Linked DNA regions of Homo sapiens: region 2 is linked to region 1. Evidence: promoter capture Hi-C in 16 types of primary human blood cells and fetal thymus (Javierre and others, 2016). All regions are on one chromosome and are shown on one strand. The core of a region is centred on a gene start or on the middle of the fragment in contact, and the rest is flanking DNA. Distances in the headings are between cores, read along the strand shown.

Region 1 (2,968 bases), core at 28-2,527:
TTTGGGAGAAATGACGACTCCCTTGCTCACCCTACTGCGACACCCCGTCCCCCTCCGCACTCTAGCAGATGCGGGCCGGGAGTAGCTGAGCTGGCCAACCGCCTGGGACCAGGATGCGGCAGCGCCCACCCGCGCGGCGTGGAGGGGGCCGGGGGCGGCGCTCGGCGCAGATGGCGCTCGCTGCGAGATGGATGCTCCAGGGCGGGTAATCACTCCTGGCTCAACACAGCATCCCGGGCGGAGCGGATGCCAGATCCCACCGCTAAGAGCCTGGGCTGGGAAAGCAATCTTTCCAGGCAGCCCCCAGCCCGGTGCGCCGGCCCCGACAAGTCCCAGCCCTCGGAGGCAGGGCGGGGCGCAGGGACTCCCGGGACCCGCACCTGTAAGGCCGACAAAGCCCCCGCAAGCGCCCCACCCCTCTGTCCTCCGTGTCTCTCTCGTTCCGCCTCGATTCCCCGAGCCCTCTCCAGGCAGCGACTGGAGAAGCGAAGTCGGCCTCGCCCCCGAACTCCGTGGTCAGCACAGGTGTACGCACTTCCGAACAAAGCCCACGCCCAGACGTGTCCGCAGGGGCCCGAACAGGCACACGCCCGTGCGCTCCCGGCCCGGCCCCCGCGCTCCTCGCCCCGCCGGCACTGTGGCGTGACGCCCCGCGCCTCCGTGTCCAAGCCCGGGAAGCCGCCGTGCCGGGCCCGCAGGCTCTCCATGCCCAACTGCCCACGAGCAAGAGCTCTGGGCAGGGCTTCCCGGAAAGCGTGGGGTGCGGGCGCGGAGCAGAAGTTGGCCACAGGCTGGAGGGGGTGGTGGGTGCCGGCGCTGCTGGATTTCAGCTGTGCCTTCACCCAAGCGCAGGTCCCCCTGCTCCCTCTCGGCGCCCGCGGGAGTGTCGGGGGCCTGCAGGGGAGAAGGGAGTTGGAGATCTGCTTTGCCCCTCCTGCAGCGCTGCCAGCCCGGTGAGCGCTCGGCTGAACCCCGCGGCGGTGTCCAAGTGACAACGCAGCAGCCTCGCGCGTCCTCCTCCGCTCCAGCCGTCACCCCCGAGCAGGACCCAGTGTCACCGCCAGACGCGCAAGGAGCTACTTACGTTCTCGCGCCGCGCCCTCCGCTCAGCTCTGGCGCGACTGCCCAGGACCCTGGACCGCCGGTGTCCTCCGTTCTCGACGAAGCTATCCCCTCTGGCTGCTCCAGCCAGGCGGCCCCTGCGCCGTCCCCCGCGCCCGCGCGTCTGAGGCTCGGACTGCGGCGCGCGTCCGCCAGCGACCCTGGCGAAGCGAGGCTGGCCCCGCGCCGGCGCGCGCCCCCGCCGCTCCCGCCCTCTCCGCTCCCCCTCCCCGCGCCGTGCTTTTGCCCCTCCCGGCTCTCCTTAGCGTCCTCCCGTCCCCCTCCCCCGCACTCCCTGCGGGCGTCCTCCGCCTCCTCCCCTCCTGGCCAACCCCCTCTTGCCCTGCTGCTGCGACGGCAGCGAATGGGCTCCAGCCGCCGGCGCCTCGAGGGACTGGGTGGCCCCTCACCTGAGCGGCCGCCCCACCGCCAACCTCCGTCAGCCTGCGAGCGCGTGTGGCGGCGGGGGTGGGGGTGCGGGGACGGAGGGCGGGAGTGTTCCGGGGCTAGGATGGCTGGGATTTAGCTACAAAAGATGTTCCAGAAAATGGGTAGTTTTTGAATGCCACTCTCATGGGTTTAGCTTTCTGTGGGAGGTCTGTGGTCTTCTAGTTTTTTCTTTTTTAAAAAGCACTTTCTTCGAAATTCATCAGTTGGGGTGGTTGAGATTGGGTGAGTGGTTTTGGGGGTTTTGTTTTGTTTTTGCAACCGTTCTTTCCAAACACTCCCCGCCGCCCCCCACCACCGCAGAAAAAAGAGCTTTTAGCATAAGGCGGATGCTATCTATCCGCGGTAGAAACTGGGTCTTCTGGTCCCAAGGAATAGGGTTAGTTCGGATTTGCTTATTTACAAATGGGGGAGTATTATGGAGATTTTTTTTTTTTTTTTTTGGCAATGTAAATCGAGAATTAAGATTTTCCAACTGTATAGTATTTGAGTAAACACACTGCTTGCTGCATAGTTCAGGCTCCGAAGCGCACGTCTCCACTCTATCGTGGATGGTGTTCAGGATCCTTAGCCTGACCCTTGGGTCCTCCGTAATCTACTCCGGTCTGCACACAAATTACTTGTCTGCTGGGTATCACCCGACTTGACCACTTACAGCAGGCTCCAGCGCTTAGTGAGCTCAGCGGAGCCTTGATTCCTTCAGTTCTCTAATTCAGGAAAACATTTTCTGAGCTCCTCACCACCCCACCCCACCTCACCACCTCCTCCACCCCCAGCCTCCAAGGTGCTGGGGCAAGATTCAGGAATGAAAAAGAAACAGGTTCATCCTTCAAGGTCTTGACTACCCCAGTGGTCTGTTCTAACTTCAATTTGAACTTGCCCCGTCAGCTCACAGCATCTGCATGCAAGTGAGCAGCCTTCTTTTCCTTCTCCTTCTACTGCCATCCTCTCCTCCTTCTCCAGCCAAATGTGCTCTGGCCTCACAGAGCCTCCCTCGGTTCCTGAACCAGCATGATATCTGGCTGCTGGGTCATTGCACAAGTTGTTTCCACAGTCCCATCAGTGGTTCTTCTGACTCTAGTCCTTACCCAACTGCCATTCAGGTGGTACCTTGCACCTCTCAACTAATTGTCCAAATTTTCCTCTAAAATACCTTCCCCCCCGCAAAAAAAAAGATTCCATGATCCCCCTACTTGAAAGTCTGGGCTGGTGGGCTGGTTCTCTATTGCCTACAAAGTAAATTCCACATCTCCTGGTGTGCCTCTTTACAATCTGCTCCTAACTTATCTCTCCATTTTCCATAACTCTAAGCCTCTGCATGTGAGGTTCCTCCTAGCTAGAATATTGGTCCATCTCTTTTTCATTTGGCAAACTCTTGTTCATCCTTCAGAGCCTTACTTGGTTGTTACCTCCTCTGTAA
Region 2 (2,970 bases), core at 433-2,932, 220 kb before region 1:
AAAATAAAGTTTAAAAGTAGTATTACCACCTAGGATAGCTAGCAGGATTAAGAAAATAATTACTATAAAATTCTCAGTGTATACCAATGTTATAATGGTTCAATAACATCAGCTATTTTAAAATTATTATCATAATCATTTTTTATTTGGACCAGATTCACCTCTGAATGATCCTTCAGGCTCTGGGAGTATATAGAATTTGGGATAATGGAAGGAAGCCTGGAATTCCACATCCAAGGAATAGTGGCCATAGGGAGTGGGGGAGGGGATTCTTAGGAGTGACTCAGTTCAATTCCTTGTGCTTTTCTGGGAGTGACACAGGTGCAAATCTGGTGGCTTCAGAGGCAGAGCTTCTATTCACAGGTCTGCAGCAGAGCTGGCTCAGATGTCACTCCTAACTGCCAGGAGTTTACTGTCTGGATATACCTCCTTAAACAGTGCTTGGGTCACCTGCTAATTAACAAATGCTTTTCAGTAGTAAGAAAAACAGTGATTTTACATAATTTTCCTGGTTAATCTAACATCAAAGGAAATTATCAAATGCCTGAAAACTGACTATTTTTAAACTAGGTGATAAATGCCACCTGTCAAAGGCAGTGGAAAGTTTTGCTCAGAGCAAGCCATTCAAATACCATGTGAGTGGGAGCTGCTTATCTTTTGTCCACTTCAAGACAAGATTCAAATTCGCTGGGTTAGTCTACTGATGGCACCTAGAAATACTAGTCTACATAGTCACGAAGGCTGAAGAAGCATAAAAGGACATACAGCTGCCATCTTGTGTAAAGCTTTTGCCTGCACCCACCTTCTAAAAGACACAAAAAGACCTATCTTTGTTCCAGAAAGCATTAATTAGCCTTTACAACAGATCAGCATTCTCTCTAAATTTTGAGAATTTTCTCATTGAGTTACATCAGATGTGAATAAAGCTTGGAAGTTAGTAGAGCAGCACACTGGTAAAAGAAAGAGTAATAGCCAAGTTTTCAGAATTCATGCAGATAATACTTTACAACTGCTTCTTGGTATTGAAATACAATGTTTAGCTACAGTAAACACACATGCTTAGAAAGACAAAGGTCACAAAACATGAAATTGTGCATTTAAATCACAATATTAATTCAAAAAGCAAAGACATGGTCACATTTTCACACTGCCTAGTAATTTATAGAAGGACACTTACAGTCTTCAAGAAGTTTTGCTTTTTCCCCATCAATATCAGCAGGTAAGTGGGCAAAGAGGATTAAAGAAAATCAGATGTTAATAATAAGAACGTTAGAACTCTGAAGATAAAGGGGGCATCTTGTCTATTTGATTTGATCTAAGAAAACCTGTATAGTGAAGGTTGAATTTGTGAAGTTGCAAGACGAAGAAATTTGCATTAACGGTTTCCTTTAATCTTGCAGCAGCTTTCCCACATAAACATATGGAAGAACAAAAGCAATGCTGTAGGCAAACGAGTTCTTCCAGGAATAGGAATAGCGAATTCCATTCCATATATGTTGTGTTGGACAAGTAATTATGTTCAATTTGAAAAACAGCTGAAATCTACAATTAATTTGAGTTGTCACATACTGTGTAGTGTCTGGTCATATTATCCCAGACATCACTGTGCATATGGTAATAATACCTAACAATGGGACATTGCTACAGTGATAATGCTCCATGCAAGCCAAGTCCAACACTAATTTTAGATTTTTATATTTCTATGGTTAATCTCCAAAGTCATTAATTGAACTTTTTAGACTGTTAGCAGATTTCTGCTTCATAATTTCTCAATCACTCAGGGGTTGCTGGTGCCCACACCAAGGACTTGTTCATGTAGTAGAGAAACGATGTAAGAAATAGGGGCAGGGAAGAAATTACATTAGCATGCAATTCAAATCATTCCACAGTGCTGTCTGTCGTTACTACTTGCAAAGGTTAATATAGGAGCACCTGGGTTTTTCTGTGACTTTCTTTTCATCATGGTTATGCCTCTTCTCCGTTAGCAGTGATAATTGAGTTAGCCATAGGTGACTGTTTCCCTCTGCTTGACAGATTGAACAGTCAGATTAAGGGGGAATATATTTAATATAAGAGAGAACAAAAGCATTTCTCTCAAATGTTTTCTTTCCCTCCTGTGTATCTGTCAGGGCAAATGCTTACTTAGGCATTCCCACTCCAATGGGCTTAAGCAATTGTATATTTTTTTGAAAATTGAAATTAAGGTCACTGGATGAATTTTTTTTAAATAAGAAAAGCACTGCATTTTATTGAACTTTATAGAAGCACAGCAAAAAGTCAACAAAGTGTGGGACAAACCACATCTCTTCTTAATGTCTTCCCACTGGCAGTTGCAACCTCTATGGTAATAATAAATAATAATAATAATAATAAATAAATAAAAATGACATCCCAACAATTGAATAGCCCCAGGAAAGTGCTATCTTCCTTGCACCTTGGAAAGCTTGCCAAACAGATATTCTATTCAGGAAGCTAATGGCTTCAAAGAGGTCATGCAGATGAGGGATAAAGGAGAAATCGATTCTGAAGTACAGTAATTGTCCAGATTTGAAATTTTGCTTTCCATTTGCAGGAAAAGTGACTGGGTGGAACCTAGCATTATCTTTATTTTTCACAAACAGGCCACCCAGAGCAGGGAGAGCACAGTATATATTTACTACTAGGAAAATGGAGGGCTAATACAGTAGCTGTTGTTTGCTCCATTTTAGTGCTTTGCATATTACTTGTATTTTTAGCAGTTGCATTTTGGCATTTGACCACACTGTTTAAACCAAATAAGACTATTTGTTAGGCTCTAGATAAGATACTTTTCCTAGTTCTAGACTTATATTTAGGATTCAAAATTGGAAAGTGAGATGCGCCTTGTCTGAATCAAGAGAAATGAATTCTGGGGTGGTTTAGGGATTCCGAGGGGCATGGAGTTGGCAGAAGGAGCCTCCCCTCATCTTTGCAGACCACCCTCAGCATATG

Evidence for each region. The method cuts DNA at HindIII sites, captures the fragments that hold promoters and counts their contacts. A CHiCAGO score of 5 or more calls a contact.
Region 2: a fragment that was not itself captured here is called in contact with the fragment with the promoter of NRCAM in region 1 in 1 of 17 cell types (endothelial precursors); the score reaches 5.6 in endothelial precursors.

Annotation. Positions count from the first base shown.
Region 1 is chr7:108,455,159-108,458,126 of GRCh38, forward strand. It overlaps NRCAM (neuronal cell adhesion molecule), which reads right to left and starts at 1,278. Exons shown (of 33, transcript NM_001037132.4): 1 at 1,085-1,278. The HindIII fragment of the contact is 7,436 bases long and covers 1-2,968 here.
Region 2 is chr7:108,236,575-108,239,544 of GRCh38, forward strand. It overlaps NRCAM (neuronal cell adhesion molecule), which reads right to left. Exons shown (of 33, transcript NM_001037132.4): 5 at 1,178-1,195. Among named protein-coding and RNA genes, the nearest start is that of LAMB4, 110 kb to the left of the region's middle. The HindIII fragment of the contact is 1,517 bases long and covers 925-2,441 here.